3 separate regions of the Homo sapiens genome follow, and all the other regions are linked to region 3. The links are contacts of gene promoters, found by promoter capture Hi-C in blood cells and fetal thymus (Javierre and others, 2016). All regions are on one chromosome and are shown on one strand. The core of a region is centred on a gene start or on the middle of the fragment in contact, and the rest is flanking DNA. Distances in the headings are between cores, read along the strand shown. Region 1 overlaps PNISR (PNN interacting serine and arginine rich protein). Region 2 overlaps USP45 (ubiquitin specific peptidase 45). Region 3 holds the start of KPNA5 (karyopherin subunit alpha 5).

Evidence for each region. Contacts are between HindIII fragments. The CHiCAGO score rates a contact against its expected background, and 5 or more counts as called.
Region 1: a contact is called between a fragment that was not itself captured here and the fragment with the promoter of KPNA5 in region 3, in 1 of 17 cell types (non-activated CD4 T cells). The highest score is 7.5, in non-activated CD4 T cells.
Region 2: a fragment that was not itself captured here is called in contact with the fragment with the promoter of KPNA5 in region 3 in 2 of 17 cell types (total B cells and M0 macrophages); the score reaches 7.0 in total B cells.

Annotation. Positions count from the first base shown.
Region 1 is chr6:99,400,767-99,404,158 of GRCh38, forward strand. PNISR (PNN interacting serine and arginine rich protein) reads right to left here. Exons shown (of 12, transcript NM_032870.4): 10 at 3,063-3,116; 11 at 1,774-1,944; 12 at 1-864. Among named protein-coding and RNA genes, the nearest start is that of COQ3, 8.3 kb to the left of the region's middle. RefSeq lists an enhancer at 1,229-2,428. The HindIII fragment of the contact is 434 bases long and covers 1,826-2,259 here.
Region 2 is chr6:99,511,567-99,514,879 of GRCh38, forward strand. The region is part of intron 1 of USP45 (ubiquitin specific peptidase 45); the gene reads right to left. Among named protein-coding and RNA genes, the nearest start is that of USP45, 2.2 kb to the right of the region's middle. RefSeq lists an enhancer at 2,865-3,313. The HindIII fragment of the contact is 2,311 bases long and covers 748-3,058 here.
Region 3 is chr6:116,679,518-116,682,853 of GRCh38, forward strand. KPNA5 (karyopherin subunit alpha 5) reads left to right here and starts at 1,694. Exons shown (of 14, transcript NM_001366306.2): 1 at 1,694-1,821. The coding sequence starts at 1,818. RefSeq lists enhancers at 1,291-2,274, 2,275-3,256. The HindIII fragment of the contact is 1,991 bases long and covers 1,210-3,200 here.

The DNA.
Region 1 (3,392 bases), core at 793-3,292, about 17 Mb before region 3:
TTTTAACAGATATAGAACCACTCCTAGAAAATGTTCTTTCACTTTCTCGTTTCCTTTTTAATCTATCATCCTGACTACTGAACTTAAAATCTTTTTCTTCCCTTTTTTGTTTCTCTTTTCTTTTATCCTGTTCACGTTCCCTTTCTTTGTCTTTCTTTTTCCTATCTTTATCTATACTTCGACTCCTCTCCTTTTTCCTCTCTTGTTCTTTAGCCTCACCTTTATGCTTATGACTGTTCCCACTAAGATTTCCACGTTGATCATCAATTTTACGCCTATCTCGACTCCTACTGCGACTGGCACGATTGGTTCGTCTATCCCTTGAGCGACTTCTACTTCTACGTCTCTCTCGGGAAGGACTCCGATTTCGTCGTCTTTCTCTTTCAATGCTATTTCTATTAGATCTCCTTCTATCTCTAATCTTTACCCTAGCCCTATTGCTCTCTATTTTAATTCTGCGAGAATAGCTTCTACTCCTGCTACGTCTAGCTTTGATTGTTGGAGATCTACTCCTACTGTGTCTCTTTTTCCTTTTAGGAGAAGAAGACCGAGAAGAAGTACGACTACTACCTGAGCTAGAACTGTATGAAGAGCTAGAGACAGTACTACTAGTACTACTAGTTCTGCTATTGCTACTGGAACTACCACTACTAGAACTTCCCGACCTACTCCTTCCTTGTTTTTCTTTTTCTTTATGCTCTTTTTTTGGTTCTAAAACTGATGTGGTTTCATTTGGAGTTCTCTTCTTTTCATTAACCACATCACCGTCTGCTTCTCTTGCTTCTAGTAGTGATAAACTATTTTGCTCTTTATGGATAAATTCATTCATCTCTTTTGTAACCCTTTCTGTTTGCTGCTTTTCTTCTGAAACAGAAAAAGACAAAAACACTAAGAAAATGTTCATGTAAAATTCTCATACTACCAAATGTCAAGCTACCAGACTGTAACAATAGAACACCATTTTCAATAGAATTACGATGCAAGCCATGTAAGTAATTCAAAATTTTTTAGTAACCACATTAAAAAAGTAAAAAGAAACAGGTAAAATAACCCAATATACCAAAAATATTATCATTTCAACACATAATAAATTTAAAAAAATTCTGTTCTCTTTTTCAAGTAAAGTTTTTGAAATCTAGCATGTAATTTATACCCACAGCACATGCCTAGCCACATTTCAAGTTCTCTATAGCTTGTAGTTAGTTACGTTACCCTCCTGGACAGTGTAGCAAAATACAGTATCAAGATGTAGAGGTGGGTGTGAGGCAAGTAGGAAAAGACTTCCCTTTTGTCCAACTAAAGCAAAATTTTAAAGGTAAGTAAGTGGTTTATAGAGAAGTCTTAGCTGCTAACTCTTAATTACCTTAGATTTTTCAAAGAAGAAATTCTAAGTAAATTTTCTCTTTTGTTATTCCTAGTATTAGGTAAAGTATCTTAAGTAAAAAACTTCTAGGTTCTCTATTATCCTTATATATCCTAGCTACAAATTACTTTTCAATAGTCTTACAAATATATTTTTCCCATTTCAAAAGTCATCTTTTTCATTTCAAGACTTTTAGCAAGAAATAAAAATACCCTAAATAGCTTGGCTTATAGCCACTGCAATAAATGGCTCCTAAAACAACCAAACAAAAATTGTGACTTTAGTTTCAGTTATATCACATATTATTTATAATATAGCCTTTATTTTATCCTTTGATATTTTTAGGTTAGTTAAAAAATAAAAAGAAATACAAAACTGGACCAAAATTAAGTCTAAAAGGTATACTACACCTTCCATCTGTTTATCATGTAATAGCTGCTGTTCTTTTTCTTTTCTCCAAAAAGCTTCCTGTTTTTGCCGGATTCGATGCCGTAATTCTTCATCATCAGTGTCAGATGACTCAGATCCTCTGTCACTCCTCTCATCTTCACTGTCTCCTGATCCATAACCACCCAGTCCACCTGTGTGCATAAAGCTCAGTCTATCATATGAAAAAAATTATACTATGCACTAAAAACTTTTCAAGGTCTGAGAAGAAAGTTCATTTCTTTTTTCATTGCCTTTTCCCAGAAGAATACGCTTATTCGGGGTGGGGAGAAGTATACATTCAAACGCTTAAGGAGTTCACAGAACCTTCAGGCAAAGGTTACTTAATATCTTATTCTTTCTGGACTATTTCATATTTTTCTCACTGTAAAGGAATGATAATGGGTTTGCTGTACTGTCCATACTAACCAACAAAACTACTTAACAGGGCAGTAACAAAGCCACGCTAAAGCTTAATGATGACCCTGAAAGTATTTCTAAAATTAACTTTTATTGTTCAAAGTTTAGAAATCCCTAGAGCTAAGCAATTTTTCCCTAAAAAAATTAGAATACTATAATCTCCCTGGTACAGAAATATTATGGTGCTGAAAATACTCCCCACCCTGAAATGATCTAAATAACCATAACAAAACCACATGGGCATTTGGTTCTACCCACTTCTCTGGGTCCTCACAAAAATTAATTTGAAATGAAGATGTGGAAAAGGCAAATTCAAGCTTTTACAGCCTTGATAATATACCATGCAAATAGTAAATTATGAACACATCACTACTATTTTACTATGATAAGATAAACCCTTTCCTCTATATTAAAACTTGACTTGCCGCAACACAATCTATGTAAGTTATTAAAAGCATTAGTGGATAGGTTCTTCCCTAAGGCATGTATGCAATAATTCTGAAAGTGAGCTTAGATACTATCATGGCTAAATTATGAATTATTAAGTACAAACTATAGGTGTTCATATATAATTATATATATATAAAATGCATATATTGGAGCAATAAGGAAATCTTCCAATATAACCTGCCCCAATAAACTATGAATTAACCATCACATTTATAAATTTCTCACTGTGAATGCGTTAGTCAAAAAAATAGGCAAACCTTTTTAGACAGGATGACATAACCCTAAGACCTAGGTTTTTATAAACTGAGTAGGACTAATACAGTTTCAAAATAGAACACGCAGAGAGACAATGTATGTGTGATTTTTCCCTTTAGGCCCTCTCACAAATATGGAAAACACTTACCGAGTCCAGTGAGGGAAGCCAGTGCACTGGACTGTGCCAGCTGTTTTGCAGGAGCTTTGTATCACATCAACAACAGGAACAACATGTTAACACAAATAGCCACGATTTCATAGTCATGAGTCTATGGTATTGTTAAATCTACTACTATTGCTGCTTTTTGGGGAGAGAAGAAACATTAAAAACATAACATTCATTTTAAACCAGTATCATGTCTGGCTTTGAAATTATAACTCTGATGTGAGCTGAAATTGGTTTATAATGAGAAAAAATGTTGACAGGTATATCTGTATGTCTACTTCTGAGATTATGACATGTAACTTAATTTTTGTT
Region 2 (3,313 bases), core at 653-3,152, about 17 Mb before region 3:
AGCCTCCCAAGTAGCTAGGACTACAGGTGCACACCACAATGCCCAGATAATTTTTTTGTATTTCTTAGTAGAGATGGGATTTCCCCATGTTGCCCAGGCTGGTCTCGAACTCCTGGGCTCAAGCAATCCACATGCCTTGGCTTCCCAAACTGCTGGGATTACAGGTATGAGCCATGGTGCCCCACCAATTCCACACCTATTAACAATTAGCTATGTTTGTTTTTATCTAAATATCAATATGTGTGTATAGAGAGACACATATATGTATGTGAGTGTGTGTATATATATATATATATATATATATATATATATATATATATACACATAGTTGAACTATTTGAAAGTTGTAGAGATCTTGACAGTTCATCCCTAAATACTTCAGCATGTATCTCTTAAAAATAAGCACATTCTCCTATATAACAATGTAATCATATCTAAGAAAATTAATAATTTTCTAATATCATCTCATATTCCATCATATTCTAATTTCCTTAGTTGACCCTAAATTGTCTTCTATAGCTGGTTTTTTGAAAAAGATTCAATCAAGGTTTGCACTTGATATTGGTTATGTCTCTTTAGTATCTTTTAATCTATTAACAGAACAGTTCTTCCAACCTGTTACTTGCCTAAGACTTTAGCTTTTTAAAGAGATCAGGCCAGTGCATGAGTCACCTTGAGGGTCTTGTTAAAATGAAAGTTCTGATGCAACAAGTCTGGCACAAGACCTGAGATTCTACCTACCTAAAAAGCTTCTAACTGAAGCCACTGCTGGGGGCCCATAGAATACTCTTTCGACAGCAAAGTTATATAATGTCTCACACTGAATTTGTCTCTTTCTTCATAGTGTTATTTACCTCTATCCCTTATATTTATTAAAAATTCAGTTAATTATCAAAGATTTTAGATACAAGCTAAGCATTTTTTAAAACTACTATATTTTGGAGTCTCTGTTAGAGTAGCTTGGCCTACCTTTTACTCTCCTGCCTGGTGGCTAAGCAACATCGCAATTTTCATGGTTGCTGACTTACTTCTCAATGATCAAGGTAATGAATCTTTCAATTCAGTACTAAATTCCAAATCTTGATTTATTCATTCCATAATTCACAATAAGGGAGCTTTCAAGTTTACCATTAAGTCCAACGGTCATCACTACTGAACTAAGTTGCAATAAATTAAGGGCTTCCGGGTTAGGAACATGTAAAAAGCCTCTGAGTTCCTTGAGCACTTCATCTCTACCTTCTCCCTCCAAACTTCCTCATCTACTCTCCCCTACAGTTCCACCTTATAAAATCACTAATTTAAGTATCCCCTTCTCTGACAGCAACTTCCCAGTTCTTCCAACTTGCCTGATCAGCCACTCATATTTTCCTATAGTGTCCAGGCTGACAAGAGGCTGCATCTCAACAAGTCCTTCCATGACCCTTACAGCAGGGCAGGGAGAAGTGGAAATGGCAAATGGAGAGCTGCTTCCTAAAGCAAGTCACATGGCACATTTAACTTCAAGCAGACATGGAGAGGGGTTGCCCATGTACAAAGAGTGCAGCATTACATGTACCCAAAAATAGGTGAACCGGAATACTTGTGCAGAGCCTTAAGGACTACATCACCTCTCTCGCAGAACCCAATCCTAGATGAACCCAATTAACCATTTTCTCCATGTCGGGAGAAAGTCTCTTAAGAAAGCAGACTAGGTCCATTATTATTCACTTCACCTTCTGGTCAACTTACATACTATCCACAGAGCCATTTCAAATCTTCTTCACTTTCCTCAAACCTCTAACCCCTCCAACTCCCAACTAACTTACCAAAAACTGATCTAGTCTTTTATAAGGGAAAAGAGACATAAGCAGACGGCAAATTTGATCTTTCTAACCCCAAATTTGCAAACCTACCTCCATCAATTTAAATTTGATGTCCTGAAAAGAGATAGGTATAACTAATAAAGTACAGGGAAAATGGCCTATGAGAAACTGATTATATTTTCTCGCTGTGGTACAGATAAGCTCTTGATAAAGATGAGCATTAACACAGATAATGCTAGCAAAATAATAAACAAAACCAGGCATTTGACCTACATACTGTAAGCAACCTGTGCCTTTTTTCAAAAACACTGACTCAAAATTAACTTGGTAATGTAGAGGCAATTTCTGATGATTTTTCTGCCATATGTAATGTCTAAACAGACAGAATCATTTGGTACAGTAACCCAGAATTCGGCAATTATTTATCTGTAGTTTTCCAATTTCCATTTGAGGCAAAAGGGCAAAATTAAAAGTCCAATTATTAGAGCTTCCAATACTTTTTATCATCAAAATTGTGTCTGGGCACTGGAGACTGGGAAGGATGGGAGTGGGGTGAGGAATGAGAAATTGCTTAATGGACACAATGTACATTATTCAGGTGATGGTTACACTAAAAGCCCAGTACCACTAGGAAATATATCCTCGTAAAAAAACGGCACTTATATCCCTTACCTTTATACAAATTTACAAAACTGTGGCTGAGGATCTCCGTGATCTCCCCCACATTTAGAGCTTTGATAGGATGCACGGGACTCAACATATAGTTGAATTCATGGCTGACATTTATTACACAATGCAGTATGGATATAAAGGCTCATCATAATAGAAAAAGACACAAGCGGAGTCTGGAGGAATCACGTGTAGGCTCCTTATGCGGTCTCCCTCCCAAGAGGGGTCAAACAAAACACATCCTTCCTCCATCAGTGAAAATGCAGCAGTTTCCGCGCAGGGAAGCCCATTAAAGACTTGGTGTCCCGGATTTTTACAGAAGCTGGTAATTTCGGCATAAAACATACTGTTCAGCACAAACCCAAAAATCTAAGTTCCCAGATGCCAAACAAGCACCAACATTGCAAGCAGTCCTTTCTAAGGATAGCAGTCTTAAGGCCTGCTATGTTAACTCTTTTTAGCACAAATATGTTCTGGCCATTTTTCTCATGCGGTTTTCCAAACAATAAACTTTACAGTTTTCAAGTCACCATCACTTAACACTTGTCTTTTCTCTAAAGTAGGATGTGCAACTAAGTTGTTTAGAAAGCTTTGTTTTTAAACAGGCTATGCAAAAAGCCCATATCCTTAAGAAAAAAAAATCCTTTTTTCCTACTCTTGGGCAATTATTTATGGGGGTTGGAAAGAGAAGAAAAGGTCACTATCTCCTTTTATATACCAAGCTCAAAAAGATGAGCAGCACTTATGGTTTTGCTGTGTATCACGCTCAGTTCTAAGCACTTCACAAATATTAACCCACGCAACCCTCACAACCACCTTAGGAGATAAGTTGCTATTATTTT
Region 3 (3,336 bases), core at 444-2,943:
TAGAACCCTAAGTTCCAAAAATTGCCTGCCCCCTTCCTTGAAAACTCATGAATAATCCACCCCTTGTTTAACATATAATTAAGAAATAACTGGCTGGGCGCGGTGGCTCACGCCTGTAATCCCAGCACTTTGGGAGGCCGAGCCAGGAGGATCACCAGGTCAGTAGATTGAGACCATCCTGGCTAACACGGTGAAACCCTGTCTCTACTAAAAATACAATAAATTTCCAGCTACTCGGGAGGCTGAGGCAGGAGAATGGCGTGAACCCGGGAGGCGGAGCTTGCAGTGAGCCGAGATGGCGCCACTGCACTCCAGCCTGGGCGACAGAGCAAGACTCCGTGTCAAAACAAACAAACAACACACAAAAAAACTATATACTCAGTCCAGCAGCCCAAGCCACTGCTCTGCCTATGGAGTAGCCATTCTTTTGTTTCTTTACTTCTTTAATAAACTTGCTTTCACTTCACTATATGGACTCATGATTGGCAACGCTTTCTGGTAACACTGCCCAGGTTTCCTTTGTCAAGCGTGCCTTTCTCAGCCCTACATACCCACAGTTAAATAATCCCTTCTCTCCTGTTTATTTTTCAACTATTGAAAATAGCAAACATCTTAAAACAATTTGTCTTCATGTTTTTCCTCTTAAAAAATTGCAAACGTCTTCTGGGCAGGATTTATGTATTGTTTATCTTATTTATTCTCTTCCTATTGCATCTGGAACACAGTCTGTTTTCAATACCGTTTGTTGAACTCCAGGGTAGATTACAGGGCTGTGTATTATAATCTACAGTACTTTAACTGAAGTTACTCGTTTATTGGTGACTACATTGCTGTCAAAAATACACTCATGTGGCTGGGTGTGGTGGCTCATGCCTGTAATCCCAACACTTTGGGAGGCTGAGGCGGGCGGATCAGGAGGTCAAGAGATCAAGACCATCCTGGCCAACACGGTGAAACCTGGTCTCTACTAAAAATACAAAAATTAGCTGGGCGTGGTGGCGCATGCCTGTAGTCCCAGCTACTTGGGAGGCTGAGGCAGGAGAATCGCTTGAACCTGGGAGGCGGAGGTTGCAGTGAGCCGAGATCGCATCACTGCACTCCAGCCTGGTGACAGCGCCAGACTCCGTCTCAAAAAAAACCCCCCAAAAACAGAAAAACAAAAACAAAAAACCGCAGATGTTATAGAATATAAAATTATAAATGACAAAAAGCTTGAAATAAAACGAGCAGAGCATATAAAAGTTAATGAAGCTGAAGAAAACGTGAGCTTCTCCGTACACTTAACAAGGCTGCGATTTTTACCAACTTTTTTGCACTGTTGTAGCCCCAATAATGTATCTAAAATGGTACTTGACACAGTTTATATCCTTAAGAATGTATGCATGCACGCACGCGTGAAGAATGAATGAATGAGGGGTCGTCCCTTTGCACACACGGAGGTCTACGGGCCGCAGAGTACCTACAGCATGGCCACCGCAAGCGCAACTAAAATCCAGGGCTTGTCGCAGGCACAGGCTCCTCCTTCGGTGGGTGGGACGGCGGCGCGCACTTTCTCTACGCCCCACTGCTAGGATGTGCGGCCACCACTCCTCCTCCGCCGCCGCCGCCGCCGCCGCCGCCGCCGCCGCGTCGAGTGCAAGGGCTTCTGGGAGCCGAGCCTCGGGGTCTCGGAGAAGGGGCGCAGGTGGCCGCCATCTTGGATTGCGAACTGGGTCGCTACGCTTCACGCCAGGGGCGGAGTGGCGGCCCTTCTGTTACCCGCCACACACGTCGCCGCTGGGGACTGGGAAATCAGGGCATCGGAGAGTGCCACATTAATGGGTAAGTTGGAGTGAACACGGGCTAGGTTGGGGGAGCCTCGGTTTTGGTCCCTTTGGGAACTACTAGTTCCTGGGGCCACGGTTTTTATTTACCCCTTACTTTGCGAAGGTCTCTGGAACCTGGCGGTGCCGGGTGTTTCTCGTGTTTTCCCCAGGGCGACAGCGGTCGCGGGGGCGTGGCAGCCGGACCTTTCCCTTGCGGACGCGAAGGCGTGGTGAGTTCAGATTCTTTCAGCAGGTCCTCTGGAGTGATGGGCAGCTGGTCTCATCTTCGCCGCCCCGCCTCACCGTTTCTCGGTAGTTCTTTTCAGTTAATGGAATTGCCAAACGTTGCCACTCATACCTGGTACCCATCAGCTGTGTCCAGCAGCTTATGGAAATTCCACAGTGTCCAAAGAAGAGACAGGTTCCATCCCGAGGGCCTCCTAGCCTCGCCCTCTCCATCCGCCAGCCTCCCTCCTCCACCTGCGTGCAGGTGCCTCTAGTGCTCATTCCCGACGACAAGGCAAGCCTGGGTTCCACGCTTCTAATAGTCGGGCAGCTCCGTTCTAAGATGAAAACTTAGGTTTTCATCGATAATACATAGGAGATGGAAGTATTTGAAAGCTGTGAAATGACAGTGATATGTCTAAAGAATATGACATTGGCGGCGGGCGCGGTGGCTCACGCCTGTAATCCCAGCACTTTGGGAGGCGGAGGCGGGCGGATCACGAGGTCAGGAGATCGAGACCATCCTGGCTAACACGGTGAAACCTCGTCTCTACCAAAAATACAAAAAATACAAAATAAAATACAAAATAATAAATACAAAAAAAATACCAAAAATACAAAAAAAGGAAAAATTAGCCTGGCATGGTGGTGGGCGCCTGTAGTCCCAGCGACTCGGGAGGCTGAAGCAGGAGAACGGTGTGAACCCGGGCGGCGGAGCTTGCAGTGAGCCGAGAGCGCCATTGCACTCCAGCCCGGGCGACAGAGCGAGACTCTGTCTCAAAAAACAAACAAAAGAATATGACACTGGCATTTACTTTTGAGCTTTTTAGACATGTTTTTTAAAAAAGACAAAAACACTAATGATTTATCTCTCAATTACAACACCCAATAATGATGACTCATATTCTGTACAAAAGTGGTTTTCTTGGTAGGTCAGGAGCAACTCTCTCCCTCCGACCTAAGTACTGCTTGTTTGGTTGTGAGGGCTCTCTAGTTGGCACTTCCCCCGCTTTGTGCAGTCTTTTACTTTCACTAATGAGGCGCCCAGCCCCATGGAAATGAAGGCTTTACTGGCATAAGAAATAATGTCGATTGATATTAAAGAAAATCATAAGTTCAGATTCCAGTTATTTGCCCAACTTAAACATGGTTTTTCTAAGAGCCGTTGAAAGCTTATGAATGAAAAAAATTCCTCTATTCTGTAACTTTAAAGTGCTGGAATAACATTTCTAAATAAAAATATTTAATTTTTATGAGACCTCAGCCTTTGAAGTGCAGCCTTTAAATTTATTTTTCAGTGAACGAA